4 separate regions of the Homo sapiens genome follow, and regions 2, 3 and 4 are each linked to region 1. Evidence: promoter capture Hi-C in 16 types of primary human blood cells and fetal thymus (Javierre and others, 2016). All regions are on one chromosome and are shown on one strand. The core of a region is centred on a gene start or on the middle of the fragment in contact, and the rest is flanking DNA. Distances in the headings are between cores, read along the strand shown. Region 1 holds the start of NPM1 (nucleophosmin 1). Region 2 overlaps LOC100288254 (a long non-coding RNA gene). Region 3 overlaps FBXW11 (F-box and WD repeat domain containing 11). Region 4 overlaps FBXW11 (F-box and WD repeat domain containing 11).

Evidence for each region. The method cuts DNA at HindIII sites, captures the fragments that hold promoters and counts their contacts. A CHiCAGO score of 5 or more calls a contact.
Region 2: a contact is called between a fragment that was not itself captured here and the fragment with the promoter of NPM1 in region 1, in 2 of 17 cell types (total B cells and naive CD8 T cells). The highest score is 6.0, in total B cells.
Region 3: a fragment that was not itself captured here is called in contact with the fragment with the promoter of NPM1 in region 1 in 2 of 17 cell types (fetal thymus and total B cells); the score reaches 5.9 in fetal thymus.
Region 4: a contact is called between a fragment that was not itself captured here and the fragment with the promoter of NPM1 in region 1, in 2 of 17 cell types (M2 macrophages and megakaryocytes). The highest score is 6.4, in M2 macrophages.

The regions. Positions count from the first base shown.
Region 1 is chr5:171,386,581-171,389,123 of GRCh38, forward strand. It overlaps NPM1 (nucleophosmin 1), which reads left to right and starts at 1,269. Exons shown (of 11, transcript NM_002520.7): 1 at 1,269-1,426. The coding sequence starts at 1,369. It overlaps MIR3912 (microRNA 3912), which reads right to left and starts at 180; the gene lies at 76-180. RefSeq lists silencers at 1,550-1,609, 1,930-1,989. The HindIII fragment of the contact is 7,200 bases long and covers 51-2,543 here.
Region 2 is chr5:172,290,895-172,293,437 of GRCh38, forward strand. All of the region lies in intron 1 of LOC100288254 (a long non-coding RNA gene), which reads left to right. Among named protein-coding and RNA genes, the nearest start is that of UBTD2, 8.4 kb to the left of the region's middle. The HindIII fragment of the contact is 2,761 bases long and covers 1-2,543 here.
Region 3 is chr5:171,997,714-172,000,256 of GRCh38, forward strand. The region is part of intron 1 of FBXW11 (F-box and WD repeat domain containing 11); the gene reads right to left. Among named protein-coding and RNA genes, the nearest start is that of FBXW11, 7.7 kb to the right of the region's middle. The HindIII fragment of the contact is 1,683 bases long and covers 427-2,109 here.
Region 4 is chr5:171,900,145-171,902,687 of GRCh38, forward strand. The region is part of intron 4 of FBXW11 (F-box and WD repeat domain containing 11); the gene reads right to left. Among named protein-coding and RNA genes, the nearest start is that of FBXW11, 110 kb to the right of the region's middle. The HindIII fragment of the contact is 821 bases long and covers 856-1,676 here.

The DNA of each region.
Region 1 (2,543 bases), core at 19-2,518:
CTGTCTCCACACACACACAAAAAAAGGCATAACAAATTTAAGTGACTCAAAGCTTTATGTGACACAGGAGCTCTCAGAAAGGAACAGTTAAATTATAACATGTCCATATTATGCGTTAGTATGTGTCCACAACTAACCCATAATATGGACATGTTATAATTTAACTGTTCATTCCTCTCTTGATAGACACTGAAATCGTCTCTATAATTTTCCTGTAAGAAATAATGCCTTGGGGTGGGGGTGTCTTCCTTTCTGAGGCTATCATTTGTATTCCTCACTTCTTAAATTTGTTTGATATGTTGAGGCTTAAAAAAAAAAGATTACGGGTCTTCAGAACGCCCCAATGCCCGCGGGGTGCTGGGGTGCCTCGGAGTTTGTCAAGGTGTAGCTTAAAACGTTAATTCCCATGCTCGCTCCCAAATATTCGAATTAAGGCTTCTGTAGTTCTTACAAGTCACCCGCTTTCTTTCAGGAGGAATGTTAAAGATTAAGAGCGGCAAGAAGTCAGAGTCGGCCCACCCTCCGAGCTCTCTTAGGGCGATGTCCTTGCTAATTTGGAGACTGATTCAGTCCCCTTTTGGCCCCCAAGTTACGTAAAGATAAGGACTTTGGAGATGTTTTCTCAGGAAGGACAGAGCTGAAAAACAAAGTTCCGTAAGTCTGGCCGGTAACTACATCTTTCCTTCCTAACAAAGAATAAGCCGCAATTCACTCTCTCTGGCACCTGAACTTTGGGGTAACGATTAACTGCGATCCGAAGCCTTCAGGCAAGTAAAAAATTCCTGAAGTGATTACGCCTGTTTGGAGGCTTGCAGGGCACTAGGGGATGGGGAAAGGTGAATCGAGGTGCTCTCTGGCTCATTCGCAGCCGGCTAACCCGCCATATCTTACACAGCTAAGGGCTGCCGACGCCATTTTGCAGGGTGGGCTGCGCAGACTCTTGGCGGGAGGCCGGCGCGCTTGAGCGGGAGAGGACGTGGAAGGGTTGGAGGTGGGGAGTGCGCGTTACGACTGGAAAGCACGCGTGCGCACAGGCGACAGCAGCGGAGGGGTGGGGCCAGTGTACGAGTGCGCGTGCTCGGTGGGAGCCCGCGGAGTACCTGGAAGGAGGTGGGGGCGAGGTAGAAAGGAGTGGGGTTGAAAAGCGCTTGCGCAGGACGGCTACGGTACGGGGGTGGGAGGGCTTCGGAGCACGCGCGCGGAGGCGGGACTTGGGAAGCGCTCGCGAGATCTTCAGGGTCTATATATAAGCGCGGGGAGCCTGCGTCCTTTCCCTGGTGTGATTCCGTCCTGCGCGGTTGTTCTCTGGAGCAGCGTTCTTTTATCTCCGTCCGCCTTCTCTCCTACCTAAGTGCGTGCCGCCACCCGATGGAAGATTCGATGGACATGGACATGAGCCCCCTGAGGCCCCAGAACTATCTTTTCGGTAACTGCTGGGGGGAGCTGGAGCGAGGCCGAGCGGGGCCTGGTGGCGGTGAGGGTGGGGGTGAGGGGCGGGAATCCGGCTGCAACCGGGTCTGGTGGAGACCGCCAGACCGACGGGAGGCCTGAGCGGGTGGGAAGAGCTGCCTGAGCCCTGGACCTGGAGGGATTGGAGCCGCGGGGGGAGCCGGTGGCGTGAAGGGGGAGGAGACGAGCGGCCTGAAGCGTCTGGGGCGTGAGCGGTCCGAGGCCCGGGGCCTGAGGTAAAGTGGAACCGGCCGCCTGGAAGTTCGGCCTTTGCCGGGGATACGTGGCGGAGCTCCAGGCGTGGTTTATTTTCTAACGGCGGTGGTTCATAGGCTTCTGATGCCAGGCCCCGGGTTGGTGGTCCTGGAGGCTGGGTTCACCGGGAAGCATGGGCCTGCTTGTTGGAGCGGGTAGATGCACAGCCTGGCGTTATTCTGGCCTCAGAGCCTGGAGCTGCCGGACGTAGACTTACCTCGCGTGCTTCGGCCAGTTACTGGGGGTGGGGAGGCGCGGCGCGGCGTGAGGAGGCCGCAACCGCTGGGAGCACGTGGTTGCCACGTGGTTGGGGGAGGGAGGGGGGTGTGGGCGCTACATCCGGGACTCACCGGCGTGTTGCCACTCGTGAGCCAGGGATGCTGTGGCTCTGTTGAAGTGGGAAATGTTAAGAGGCTGGTAGCACTAGGGTTCTGGAGGTCTTTGTTCAGTGCTTACAGCATGTACTGTGATGGCAGCTCTCATTTTTTTGAGCCCCTTTTCTGTCTCACTGCGGTAGGTGGAGCTAGCCCCACTTTGCAGATGAGGATACTGGTGCCCAGAGATAAACTCACTTAACGAAGGTTGTACTTAGTAAAGGCAATAAGAGACTAAATCTAAACCAAGACGCTTGACTCCGTAGCTGCTGCTTCGTGAATATTAATGAGGCTTCGTTTTAGGGGGACGTCCTCGCATGCCGCCATTTGTGCGGCATTGACCAAACTGCTTTTCTAAATACAAGAAACACGTAGAGTGTTCGGTTTGAGTCAGATCAAGACCTAAGACTATTCGCAGAATTTTGGGAGCACCACCCCCCTCGACTTGCGGTAGTCCTGCCCCAA
Region 2 (2,543 bases), core at 19-2,518, 900 kb after region 1:
CATGGAGATTTACACTCTAAGAGTTTTATACTTTTAGCACTTACATTTAGGTCTTTGATCTGTTTTGAATTAATATTTTTATTGTGGTAAAATACATATAACATGAAATAACTTATTTTTATTTTTTATAAATGTATTTGAACTAAAGATGGGATTTTGCTATGTTGCTTAAGCTGGTCTTTAACTTCTGGCCTCAAGCAATCCTCCCACCTTGGCCTCCTACAGTTCTGGGATTAGAGGTGTGAGCTACTGCACCCAGCCTGACTTAATATTTATAAATGATGTAAAGTAGGGATCCAACTTCATTCTTTTGCATGTGGATTTCCAGTGTCCCAGCATCATTTGTTGAAAAGATTATTCTATCCACCCCCGCCCACCTTTTTTTTTTTTTTGAGATAGAGTTGTGCTCTTGTTGCCTGGGCTGGAGTGCAATGGCACGATCTCGGCTCACTGCAACTTTCGCCTCCCAGGTTTGAGTAATTCTCCTGCCACAGCCCCCCAAGTAGCTGGGATTACAGGAATGCACCACCATGCCCAGCTAATTTTGTATTTTTAGTAGAGACAGGGTTTCACTATGTTGGCCAGGCTGGTCTCGAACTCCTGACCTCGAGTGATCCACCCACTTTGGCCTCCCAAAGTGCTGGGATTACAGGCGTGAGCCACCACCTCCGGCCATTCTTTCCCCATTGAATTGTCTTGATGCCCTTGTCAAAAATCAATTGACCATAAATGTTAGAGTTTATTTCTGACTGTCAGTTTTATTTCATTGATCTTTTATGTCATGATTATGCGAGTACTACACTGTCTTAATTACTGTAGTTTTACAGTAAGTTTTGAAGCTGGGAAATTCAAGGTTGTATTGTCCTCTTTATGTACTGTTGCATTCTATTTGCTAACTTTTTTTTTTCAGAATCATAAACAGCTCTTTTATTTCTATATTAAAATGATTTTTGTGGCATATTTAGCAATTTAAAAAAATTGTTATTTTAGGTTTGGGGGTACATGTGAAGGTTTGTTACATAGGTAAACACGTGTCATAGGGGTTTGTTGTACATATTATTACATCACCCAGGTATTAAGCCCAGTACCCACTAGTTAGCTTTTCTGCTCCTCCCCCTCCTCCCACTCTCCCTCCTCCAGTAGACCTGTGTCTGTTGTTTCCTCCTTTTTTTTCTTTCTTTCTTTTTTTTGAGACAACGTCTTGCTCTGTCACCCCTGGAGTGCAGTGGCATGATCTCAGCTCACTGCAAACTCCGCCTCCCAGGTGCAAGTGATTCTCCTGCCTCAGCCTCCTGAGTAGCTGGGATTATAAGTGCTCACCATCACGCCCGGCTAATTTTTGTATTTTTAGTAGAGATGGGGTTTCACCATGTTGGCCAGGCTGGTCTCAAACTCCTGACCTCAGGTGATCCGCCCGCCTCAGCCTCCCAAAGTGTTGGGATTACAGGCTGAGCCACCGTGCCTGGCCTGTTTCCTTCTTTTGTTTCCTTCTTTGTGTTCATAAGCTCTTACCATTTAGCCCTTATAACATTTTGTTCTAAATTATTGCATCTCTGGTTATGAATATTTGCCTATAATTTTTTTTTGAGACGTAGTTTCGCTCTTGTTGCTTGAACCGCCTCCCAGGTTCAAGCACTTCTCCTGCCTCAGCCTCCCAAGTAGCTGGGATTATAGGCATGAGCTACCATGCCTGACTTTTTTTTTTTTTTTTTGAGACAGAGTCTCGCTCTGTCACCCAGGCTGGAGTGCAGTGGCATGATCTCGGCTCACTGCTCGGCTCACTGCAACCTCTGCCTCCCGGGTTCGGGCAATTCTCCTGCCTCAGCCTCCCGAGTAGCTGGGATTACAGGCATGTGCCACCAAGCCTGGCTAATTTTTGCATTTTTAGTAGAGACAGGGTTTCACCATGTTAGCCAGGATGGTCTCGATCTCCTGACCTCATGATCCACCCACCTTGGCCTCCCAAAGTGCTGGGATTACAGGTGTGAGCCACCGCACCTGGCCCTAAGTTTGTATTTTTAGTAGAGACAGGGTTTCTTCATGTTGGTCAGGCTGGTCTCGAACTCCTGACCTCAGGTGATCCACCACCTCGGCCTCCGAAAGTGCTGGGATTACAGGCGTGAGCCATTGCACCCAGTGTCTATAGTTCTTTTTTTCCTTAAAGGTCTTTGTCCACTTTTTGTATCAGGTATTATTTTGATTTTATGGAAGAGAAAAGGAAACTCTAAAGAACGGAGGAATGCAGATAAGCAGCAGCAGCAACCCTAGGGCTGAGACAGTGCACTTAAGGAAGAGGCCCTTCTAGGGCTGAGAGCCAGTGCCCCATTGCTGGAGGGGATATGGCCTTGGCTTGGTGAATGGCAGAGAAGTTCCTCTTGTGCCACACCAGTGGAAGTTGCTGGAAATCCCTTCTCTAGGACTTGCTGATAATATGCCCTGTAATGCTGAAAGGCTGTTTATAGGAGGTACCCCACTTAGAGCCATTCTGCTGTGAAACTACCGGGTACTACGAAGTACCTGGAGAAATTGCTCATTGCTAGGTG
Region 3 (2,543 bases), core at 18-2,517, 610 kb after region 1:
TTAAATATTAAGTCCTGTCCATATTATATCAATATTCTTTTTCTACCATATCAAATTAGACTGCAAATTCTAAACAAACTAAAAGGGAAAGAGAAAAAGCATTCAGCAGAACAACAAAGATAAAAACAAAAAGACTGAACTTACTCGAACATAAATTTGCTACTTCCACAATTGCTACATTATAGCCAAAATGCTCCTGCAGTAATTATAGTAATACCTACCTTATTGAAAAGCTACTAACTGGCCAAGCCCTTTACATTAATTACCCATATTTAATTCTCAAAAAAAGATGAGCAGAAAGAAGTAACCTATCCAAAGTCCCACATCTACTAGGTAGTAGAGCCCATGCCCTTTTCATGGAGCACTATGGACTCCACAGTTCAAGGGTCAGAAAGCCCATGATTTCTGAGAGAGGAGAAGAAATCAAGCTTTACTCTCAAAGGTCCTAAATTAATTAACATCAAAATGGAGAACAATGAAAATACAGAAGAGTAAATATTTCAGCCTACATGAATCAGTTGGGCCATCCTGAAAGGGTAATTCCCTAGATCTTGCCACTTAAAAAAGCATTTAATTAACAAAGAGCCATGCAATTCTACAGCCCATGATATTTTTTTCTTGTCTTTTTTTTTTTTTTTTTAAGTAGAGACAGGGTTTCACCATGTTGCCCAGGCTGGCCTCGAACTCCTAAGCTCAAGCGATCTGCCTACCTTGGCCTCCCAAAGGGCTGGGATTACAGGTGTGAGCCCCCATGCCCAGCCTAAAGCCCACAATATTAATGCTAAAACAAAACACATTATAGGCTGGGCTCGATGGCTCACACCTGTAGTCCCAACATTTTGGGAGGCCGAGGCGGGCAGATCACTTGAGGTCAGGAGTGTGAGGCCAGCCTGACCAACATGGTGAAACCCCATCTCTACTAAAAGTACAAAAATTAACCGGGCCTGGTGGCACATGCCTACAATCCCAGCTACTCGGGAGGCTGAGGAAGGAGAATCACTTGAACCCGGGAGACAGAGGCTGCAGTGAGCTGAGATCGTGCCACTGTACTCCAGCCTGGTTAACAGAGCAAGACTCCGTCTCAAAAAAAAAAAAAAAAAAAAGACTGTGGCAAGACATACTATAATGGTACTCAAGTAGTCTTTGTGTTTAGCAGCAAAGATTGTAACTGTGACAAAGAATCTCAAATCCAGCTGAACCCAAGTAATTTTTAAATTCTAAGATTTGTTGACAGTCCACAGGCAATGACTCTTAAAGATGTTCTGATTGTTCATATTGTAGGTAAGGCAATTAAAGTGACTGAAATACCGGTCTATGATTAACCTCGCCATAACAATCAGATGAAAATACCTTAAGACTCACAACTTTAAGGAGATCACAAAAGTAAAATCCCAAGCAAATAATGAGTTCTCAAGTTTTTCCCATTAAGTGGTATTACTCCTAAGCCTAAGAATAAACTGGAAACCCAATTTTGACAGAAGTAGCTAGGGAACTATGGCTAGTAGCGAACTGCTAAAACAGTATACTATGCTTTTCAAGGTACGACTATCCAAAATGCAAAACAAGTTATAGCAAAACACAACCACAGCAATTTGACTAACAGACTCATTTCTGGACCTCTTGAATCCTCAGGCTTTTCCCCTGTACTAGTGAGTTAATTTTTCTCCCTTCCCTTCAAAAAAAAAAAATATATATATATATACACACACATATATATTTCTTCAATCCCTAATTGTATATATATATTTCTTCAATCCCTAATTGCTGGCAGGCCTTATGCTAGTAATACAAAGATTAACAGATGCCAGGTGAGTAGTGTCAGGACTGAGTTCTTCCTGCCCCTCTGCCCCCTTTCTCTTTGAATCTATCATGTAGTCATTTCAGAGGGCCAAAATATATTTTATTGTTAGTTACCAAAACTGGTTCAATGTTCTCCAGTTAACTCCTAAAAAAATAAACATTAAAAATTACTCAAGTTCCTTTTTCACAATAGTAGAACCTCAGTCTTTCTTTTTCTTCTGTGGATCAGAGGCTTTTTACTATACAATGGTTTCCTACATTCAATATGCTTATATTTACACACCTCTCTATCACAAGCCAAAGAGCCAAAGCTTTTTTTTTTATTTTTCCTATTAATGTCCCAGTGTTTATACTTCACAGCTTTCCATTTTGTGAAGCTCTTCATTGTTAACTCAACCTGAGAGGGAATTTCCTAAAAACGCTTCCCGCTGACATCACAGAACTCTTCCATCTTTTAGTTTCATTAAAACACTAAGAACCAGGTAAGAGATACCCTACTGGATTGTCAGGTCTTCCTGGTCTGTCTCTCATTTGCCTACAAAGACAAACTTCCTCTTAAGCAATTGCGATCAGCAGAAACTAACCAAGGGTAACGAGCACATTCTTAACCAACACGTTTCTTCCCCCATTGTCATCTAATTCAATGAACAATACAACTCAGAAGAAAATCTTGTATGAATTCTCACTGCTTATTCTGTTAAGGTTAAAACCATCAGCTTTGATGATGGTAAGAATAAGAATTC
Region 4 (2,543 bases), core at 16-2,515, 510 kb after region 1:
AAGGTACCAGCCATCATTTCCTTAAAGATAAGAGGAATAAAGAAATCCTGAACCAAGTAAAATATTTTAGTCATATCAAAAGTTCTACAGATACTCAAATCCATGAGTACATAAACATATACACTTCTTTTTGGTTCTGATTTTTTACGATAAAACAATTGATAGCAACTCTTCTCTGTGTGTAAAAGCTGACCTTGGACAGTTCTGTTATTTGTCAAATATTAAGATAAGACTTTTCATTTTCTTTTATATAACTCTCACAGCACTCCTATAGGGCAATGACGCCCCAAGTTTGACAGATGAAGCACAGAAAGGTAAAGAACTCAAGATTTTACACTCCCTTGGCTTTACTACTGGAACTCGGATTTCTTGCTTCAAAGTTTGTGTTCATTCCCATCTTACTCACTGTCTCTCATAACAAATCATATCCCCATTAATCCATACCCGGTGTGAATCCCTGGGAGATCAGAAGACAAAAAAGGCAAAACACCGACTCATCTTGAAAAACTTATGAAAAGTTAAATGGCAATCCAAGAATTAAAGTCGATTGTGCTTAAATGTATTTTTGTCAATCTTTTCATCTCCCTTTCGTGAGTATCCATTTTCTGTTCCTAAACAGATGGGACAATCCTCAAAAGCAATAGCCCCATGTCTACAAATCCTAGAATCTTAGAGGTCATTGGCTTCAACCTCCCACGATACAAGGATACTCTCAAAGAAAACCACTTTCAGCCTCTGCCTGACATTCACAATGGGAAGATGATCAACATGGCCACCACTGTTGCCACCTGTAAACTCCCATCCTGTGGCGGTAAGTATGTCTTCTACAGTTGCAAGAAATAAAGCTTCTCCCCAAGCTTATTCTGTGTAGGGACGAGAACACAGAACTTATCATCAGAAAATTCCCATTTCAAGTCCCAGGTTCACCACTTACTAGTTCTATGACATGAAACAAACACTGAAACATCCCTGTGCCTTGAATTTTTGTGCCCTAACATACAAAATGGTAATCACCAGTAACAACTATCCTTTCTTACACTGTCTGTCAGAATCAAATTCAACAGTTTTATGAAAACATTTTATAGACAAGCACTCTACAAGGTTAATATCTGTTCTCTTTTCTCAAAATAATTAGAAGTAGTATAATAGCACTAAACTTGGTTGTTGAAAGGCCAGATGTAGGTAAATTATTAAACTTTCAGAGTCAGTTTCCTCATCTGTATAAGATTACGATAATCTCTACTTGATTCTGAAAATATCAAAATGAGATGATGCATGAAAAATGCTTTACAAACTAAAGTTCCTTCAATTCTAAGAATGACTATTATTATACCATTGGTTATAATTTCCAGGTCCTTCATATACTAAAATTCTCTTACTCTGGACTAGATCAAAGACCCAAGCTATGGTCTAAGAATAAAGACTACACTGGGACCACTGTCCTTTCCTGCATGTCATTTACAGTTAATGTGGTCAAAGGCTGCACTGCCTTCATCTGATAGTCATATCACAGAAGACGCCTAAGATGGCAGTAAGTTAGAATAAAATCCCAGGCCTCTCCCCCAAAAACATCTATTGAAACAATTTCCCCGAATGCTCTATTTGCACAGCTAGTTGGAAAGGTGGGGGGCAGCTTTGTGCGGTTTATATTTATCCTTACTATAATTCACCTTCAAAGCTTTGTCTGACCCATCCATTTCAGTCTCTAGAATTCTGATTTTTGTCACACCCAGAAGAGTGGGTATTCCACACCAGACCTGCATGATGGGCTAAAGTACTAAGGCAAACATGTTAAACCATGTTGGCAAACACGTTAAACGGGTCAGAACCAAGGACAGCACCCATGACACTAGCTATTAGTACCTATTATTATAATATTTCCCTCCAAGCTAGCACTGATGCCGCATCAATATGCCCAGGGCACCCACACTGCGACATCCGGTCTGTAGTCATCTATATGTGCCATTGCCCAGTCCATATCTCTCTATTCTGTCCTCGGAGGTATTTGGAAAAATCAGCAGATGATGATATTACCATCTATTTACATCATTCTTCAGACCTACCTACTAGCCTGGTAACTTTATCCAAAAAGGAAATAAGGTGAGGAGGGTATGGCTGCTTTCATGTTCCCGTGCTGGGGTTTACTACATAAAGTTGTATTGCAATTTTTCACTTACATGTTGACACTAGCTGCTTGGTAACCCTTTTAAACATATCTAGTTCATGTTCATTATAGAAAATTTATAAAGTGTAGATGAGCAAAAATTTTTAAATCCCTAAACCCCATTTCCCAGAGAAGGGAACCACTTTTCACATTCTGTATACATCCTTCTAGGTTTACACAACCATACACAATCTTTTCAGAGGCTGATTAGCCTTTGAAACTCATCTAAGAATTCTGCTAAAGCACAACATCAAATTTAATAGCTAAATCCCCCAAAAACACCTTCTCCAGTTCTTAAAACCAGGAAGTCTGCTCATCAATCATCTCTGGTGCTATCATGCAAGACTACCATGTGCAACTGTACAAGCTGTACAGGGCA